Linked DNA regions of Homo sapiens: region 2 is linked to region 1. The links are contacts of gene promoters, found by promoter capture Hi-C in human tissues and cell types (Jung and others, 2019). All regions are on one chromosome and are shown on one strand. The core of a region is centred on a gene start or on the middle of the fragment in contact, and the rest is flanking DNA. Distances in the headings are between cores, read along the strand shown. Region 1 overlaps LOC105373042 (a long non-coding RNA gene). Region 2 holds the start of CHADL (chondroadherin like).

Region 1 (3,301 bases), core at 681-3,180:
TAACCCCTCACAGCTGGCAATTAAGCACGATAGAGAACGTGTTTGCAACGCTCCTGCAGTATTTGTGACACATCATCTACCCTCTGGTTATCCAGGGGAAAAAACTCTCTCTGGGGAGTGTCAGTACATGAACACCAAGTTCTGGAGGCTTAACCCGCTGGTCTCACTTCTCACCAGCGTCACTTGCCTGTTAGGGTAGCTGCTCCAGGCTGGGAGATGAGTGGAGTAGGCATTATTCGTTTTGGATAACTACAGCTAAAAAAAGAAAATCTAAATCTTTACTTCCTCTTACTACATCCCATCTTTCTCATAAACACGTGTTAGAACCTTCCACTGTTATCATTAATCATTGTCTAATACTTTGAGAATGGGTTTTTCTTCCCAGCAATAATGTCGTATTAGCCATGAGACTATATAGGTATGATTCTAAGCCATCAAGTCTCCTCATGGCCAAACTAGCAGGTTTTTTAAAAAGCTTCCTTAGCTTCCTTTTTTTTTTTTTTTTTTTTTGAGACAGAGTCTCATTCTGTCCCACAGGCTGGAGTGCAGTGGCACGATCTCGGCTCACTGCAACCTCCGCCTCCCACGTTCAAGCAATTCTCCTGCCTCAGCCTCCCGAGTAGCTGGGATTACAGGCACTCGCCACCACGCCCAGCTAACTTTTGCCTTTTTTTTTTTTTTTTTTTTGAGAGGGAGTCTCGCTCTGTCGCTCAGGCTGGAGTGCAGTGGCGTGATCTCGGCTCACTGCAAGCTCCGCCTCCCGGGTTCACGCCATTCTCCTGCTTCAACCTCCCGAGTTGCTGGGACTACAGGTGCCCGCCACCACACCCAGCTAATTTTTTGTATTTTTTAGTAGAGACAGGGTTTCACTGTCAGCCAGTATGGTCTCGATCTCCTGATCTTGTGATCCTCCCGGCTCGGCCTCCCAAAGTGCTGGGATTACAGGCGTGAGCCACTGTGCCCGGCTATATTCTTAATAGAGACAGGGTTTCACCACGTTGGCCAGGCTGGTCTCGAACTCCTGACCTCAGGTGATCCGCCTGCCTCAGCCTCCCAAAGTGCTGGGATTACATGGGTGAGCCACCACGCCCAGCCCTGTATTGGTTTAATCAGTTTCCTTGGAATGTCCTTTGTCTAGGTTAGCTTCCCCTAAAGGTGTTTAAGTTTCGCCACACACAGAATTCTCACTAACAATTCTACAACACAACAAATTTTCTGTACACAATTAACTATTTTCACTACAGAGAGTGACACAGGCACCACACTAACCTCTGGGATAATGGATATGCCAACCAGTTTTAGTAAAATTATGAAAACTAAATTTGTTGAAGGTTTGCAACTGTGCGCCTACGCAAATTGGCTCACAGAAACCCCGTAAGGTAGGCCAGGCGCGGTGGCTCACGCCTGTAATCCCAGCACTTTGGGAGACGCGGGTGGATCACCTGAGGTCAGGAGTTCGAGACCAGCCTGGCCAATGTGGTAAAACCCCGTCTCTATAGAAAATACAAAAAATTAGGCGGGCACGGTGGCGGGCTCCTGTAGTCCCAGCTACTCCGGAGGCTGAGGCAGGAGAATGGCGGGAAGCCGGGAGGCAGCGCTTGCAGTGAACCGAGATCCCGCCATTTGCACTCCAGCCTGGGCTACAGAGTGAGACTCTGTCTCGGAAAAAAGAAAAAAAAAATTAGCCGTACGTGGTGGTGCACGCCTGCAATCCCAGCTACTCAGGAGGCTGAGGCAGGAGAATCGCTTGAACTCAGGAGGCAGAGGTTGCAGTGAGCCGAGATCCCGCCATTGCACTCCAGCCTGGGCAACAAGGGCAAAACTCCGTCTCAAAAACAAAAAACAAAAAACAAAAACACCATAAGGTAGAGCCTGCCCTAACTCCATTTGGCATAAAAGGAAAAAACGCTGGGTGCGGTGGCTCACGCCTGTAATCCCAGCACTTTGGGATGCCGAGGCGGGTGGATCACCGGAGGTCAGGAGTTCGAGACCAGCCTGACCAACATGGAGAAACCCCGTCTCTACCAAAAATACAAAATTAACCCCGTCTCTACTAAAAATACAAAATTAGCCGGGCGTGGTGACGCATGCCTGTAATCCCAGCTATTCGGGAAGCTGAGGCAGGAGAATCGCTTGAACCTGGGAGGCGGAGGTTGCGGTGAGCCGAGATCGCGCCATTGCACTCCAGCCTGGGCAACAACAGCAAAACTCCGTCTCAAAAAAAAAAAAAAGAAAAAAAGAAAAGAAAAGAAAAGAAAATAAAAAGAAAAGGAGGCCTGAAAAGGTAAAGCAATCGAGGCATCAGATTCAGAAAATGACTGAGGTTCAATTACAGTGGCAGTGAGAGCTTGAATTTTGGAATCAGACCTATCATCCTGTCTCTACCACCACCCAAAGTCCTTCAAATCTCTTGCTTTCCAGGCCTGGTCAGCTACCCAACTTCTTTTTCCTCCTTACCCCGCCGCAAAATTATTTTTATTTATTTATTTTTTTGACATGGAGTCTCCCTCTGTCGCCCAGGCTTGACTGCAGTGGCGCGATCTCGGCTCCCTGAAACCTCCACCTCCCAGGTTCAAACCGATTCTCGTGCCTCAGCTTCCCCAGTACCTGGGATTACAGGCGCCAGCCACCATGCCCGTCTAATTATTTCTGTACTTACAGTAGTGTCGGAGTTTCGCCCTGTTGGCCAGGCTGGTCTCGAACTCCTGACCTCAGGTGATCCGCCACCTCTGCCTCCCAAAGTGCCGGGATTACAGGCGTGAGTCACCAAGCCCAGCCCCAGCAAAATTCTGATTGCATCAGCTTGATAACTTTTAGCTGGCTGTGGGTGTCTGGATCATGCATCTACCCCCTGAACCAAGGACTATCACTATACCACCCCCCCAACCCCTCCTGCTAGAAGGGCTGGGCCACTGTAGGGATGCTGGATAAACAAGCCAAGCTCTCTGCCTTCCGGGAGTTAAGCGGGGAGTCTAATGTTGCCTGGGTTTGCAGCGGAGTCTGATCTGTACTATAAAGAGGTACAAAGTTCTGAGCGCTGTTTAGGAGCAGCTTTCCATTTGTGTACCGCGCCACATATTACATTTTTACGGATTTCTGCGGAACTCCCGGGGAGGCTTTATATTTTAAGAGAGGAGGTGGTTCTCCCACAAAACGTGGCATCGGTACCTGGTGTCAAGGAGGTTTTTGTTTTCTAGGTAAAAGAAGGGAGAGTTCTAGAAAGGAAAAGAATTTCACATCTGTTTGGGACTGTGGAGATTCTCTAGCCCAACCTCTTAATTTTATGGCCGAGGAAACAAGC
Region 2 (3,234 bases), core at 82-2,581, 140 kb before region 1:
ACATGGGTGGAGCTCCGGGGCCTGGGACGGGGAGGGAGAGTCTGTTGTGCACAAGGGCCGAGGCCACATGCTGTCCCTCACTTAGTCCCAGCCATGGTGCAGCTCCTGCCCCAAAAACCCCTCAGAGCCTCCTCCTTTGGGCCCAGGAAAGTGCCAATCACCCTGAGCCTCCCTGCCCCCCACCCCCCACGCAGTGGAGGTCCTATGATTAGTCCTGTTTTACATGGGAGGAAACCGAGGCTCAGAAAAGTGACCTGGTTAGTCCCTTTGCCTCTGCCCAATGGCTCAGTGAGGACTTGCTGACTGTGAGAATGACTCCAGTTCAGAGCATGTTCTCAGGCTGTGGTGAGGCTCTGGTCCAGGGTAGGCTCGGAAGCAGCCTGTCCTCAGACTGATATGATGCCAGCTCCCAGGTGGCAGGAGCATAATGGTACCCCCCAGAAAGGAGGGAGGCATCCAGTCCGGGTCCTTGAGTCTTTTTTTGTTTGTTTGTTTAAATAGAGACAAGCCTTGCTCTGTTGCCCAGGCTGGAGTCTGGAGTGCAGTGGAATGACTATGGCTTACTGCAGCCTTCACCTCCTGGGCTAAAGTGATCCTCTCACCTCAGCCTCTTGAGTAGCTGGGACTACAGGCACACACCACCACGCCTGGCTAATTTTTTAATTACTTCTGGTAGAGACAGGGTCTCGCTATGTTGCCCGGGCTGGTCTTGAACTCCTGGCCTCAAGTGATTGTCCCACCTTGGCCTCCCAAAGCGCTAGGATGATAGATCACCTCCCCTGCCCAGCTGGCCCCTCTGTTCTCAGCCTGTGTCAGGCATGGCCTCTCCCCCATCGCTGGGCTGTTCCCCGGCCCCCAGGAGCCTCCCCCTCGCTGCTCACTGGACTATCGTCTGTTTTGGAGTCTCCTTTGGGTCCCAGGCTCCAGCCCCTGCGTTGGAGTTGGTGGCTTCTCCAGAGCCTGTGGTGAAGGCTGTGCCTCAGGGCAGGCCAGGGAGGGGACCCATGGGGACAGATCGCTGAAGCGACAAGCATTCATAATGCAGGGACCACTGCTGGGCTCTCAGACAAGCCCCAGAGGACCAGTTCCTGGCAGTGGCCACATTGCCACGTGTCTCAGAGCCCACCTTGGGAGACCCCCTTCCTGGAGAACCCCAGGAAGTCCCCAGAGCCCCTGCCCGCCAGCCTCTGAGAGGCCCAGAGGGGGCAGAGACTTACCTGAGGCCACTGAGCTGCTCTGAATCCCCCCTTGCACCATCGGGCCCAAAGACTCACCCCTCCATGCCGCCTGGAACTGCTGGTCCAGCCTGGAGGCGCAGCGCAGGGACAGGCTGTCCCCGCCTGGCAGGAGCCCCCCTCCACGGCCCGCAGGCCTGGCAGCTGGGACAGGGCTGAATGGGAGGCATTGTCGGCAGACCAGGCAAGCCAGGCTTCCCCAGGCTGAGGTGAAGAAGGGGCGGGCGGCGGGCGGGAGCAGCGGCTGGAGTTACAGGGCCTCCTGCCTGCCCCAGCCGAGGACTGAGGCCCCGGCCTGAATCCTTGGGCCAGCCCGACAGGGAGGGGGCACCAGCAGCTGGCCCGGGAGTCAGCAGTCCTGGGCTCCCTCCTGCCATGTGGGCTGCCCTCCCAGAGGCTGCTTCCTAGTCTCTGAAAAACACATCCCATTAATAAGTAGCTCTGAGGTCACAGTGGGGGTTCAGGCCCGCACCTGGCACACAGTGGGTGCTTCAGAACAGGTGACCCTTTCCTTCCGTTTGTGCTTACACATTGACATAAATAGTTTAATACTGGACACACAGGATTCTAGACACTCATTTTTTTCACTTAACCTCAGATTACTGGGAGTTATCCAAATTGACTCTTCCGAATCTCATTATTCTGTGGTATATAGTATTCCATTGTGTAAATGTATCACATTGACTTAGCCATTCATCTTGGACATTGGCTACCTCCAATTTTTTGCTATTTACAAACAATATTGCAAAGAATATCCAAATACGCATCTTCCCAAGCTCGTGTTTGTTTTTTAAATAATACATCCAGACCATGGCCAATGTTCATGTATCTTGATTTTTCAGATTCCTGCTTCTGATGGAATTGCATCTTCTACTGTTTGTTCCTTTAATTGGAAACAGGGGTCAGGCACAGTGGCTCATGCCTGTAATCCCAGCACTTTGGGAGGCTGAGGTGGGAGGATCACTTGAGCCCAGGAGTTTGAGACCAGCCTGGGCAACACAGACTCTGTCTCAAGAGAAAAAAAAAAGGCCGGGCGCGGTGGCTCACGCCTGTAATCCCAGCACTTTGGGAGGCGGAGGCGGGTGGATCACGAGGTCGAGATCAAGACCATCCTGGCTAACACAGTGAAACCCTATCTCTACTAAAAGTACAAAAAATTAGCCGGGTGTGGTGGCAGGCGCCTGTAGTCCCAGCTACTTGGGAGGCTGAGGCAGGCAAATGGCATGAACGCGAGAGCCGAGATGGCGCCACTGCACTCTAGCCTGGGCAACAGAGTGAAACTGTCTCAAAAAAGAAAAAAAATATATACATATATATATATATATATATATATATATATATATATATATATATATATATGTATGTGTGTGTGTATACACTTATGTGTGTATATATTTATATATAATAAAAATATAAATGTATATGTTTATATATATTTATATATGTTAAACAATGAACATCTGTGTGTACTTTTCCTAGACTGCAGGAGTTTTTTGTTTTTTGAGACAGAGTCTCACTTTATCGCCCAGGCTGGAGCTCACTGCAACCTCCACCTCCCTGGTTCATGCGATTCTCCTGCCTCAGCTTCCCAAGTAGCTGGGATGACAGATGTGTACCACCACATCTGGTTAATTTTTGCATTTTTAGTAGAGACGGGGTTTCGCCATGTTGGCCAGGCCGGTCCCGAACTCCTGACCTCAAGTGATCTGCCCGCCTTGATCTCCCAAAGTGCTGGGATTACAGGCATGAGTCACCACGCCCAGCCCTGCAGTAACATTTTAAAAAAAGAAATAGTGCCATGCCACACAGCCATCTGCTTTGTGCTTTTTTTGCTTGGCAAATTCCAATCAATGGAACTTCAGTGTGCTCTTTCGTCCTTTTTTTGAGACAGGGTCTCACTGTTGCCCAGGTGTGAGTGAAGTGTGATCATGGCTCACTGCGGCCTTGACATACCAGCCTCCCAAGCAGCTGGGACCTCCAGATATGCACCGCCACCTCC

What was found. Contacts are between HindIII fragments. The study calls those that stand out against the background at their distance.
Region 2: a contact is called between the fragment with the promoter of CHADL here and a fragment that was not itself captured in region 1, in 1 of the 25 tissues and cell types used here (dorsolateral prefrontal cortex).

The regions. Positions count from the first base shown.
Region 1 is chr22:41,377,677-41,380,977 of GRCh38, forward strand. All of the region lies in intron 1 of LOC105373042 (a long non-coding RNA gene), which reads right to left. It also overlaps a transcript of TEF not described here. Among named protein-coding and RNA genes, the nearest start is that of TEF, 2.6 kb to the right of the region's middle. The HindIII fragment of the contact is 7,689 bases long and covers 1-3,301 here.
Region 2 is chr22:41,239,600-41,242,833 of GRCh38, forward strand. CHADL (chondroadherin like) reads right to left here and starts at 1,332. Exons shown (of 6, transcript NM_138481.2): 1 at 1,275-1,332; 2 at 1-21. The coding sequence starts at 1,282. RefSeq lists enhancers at 935-1,435, 1,436-1,936. The HindIII fragment of the contact is 27,215 bases long and covers 1-3,234 here.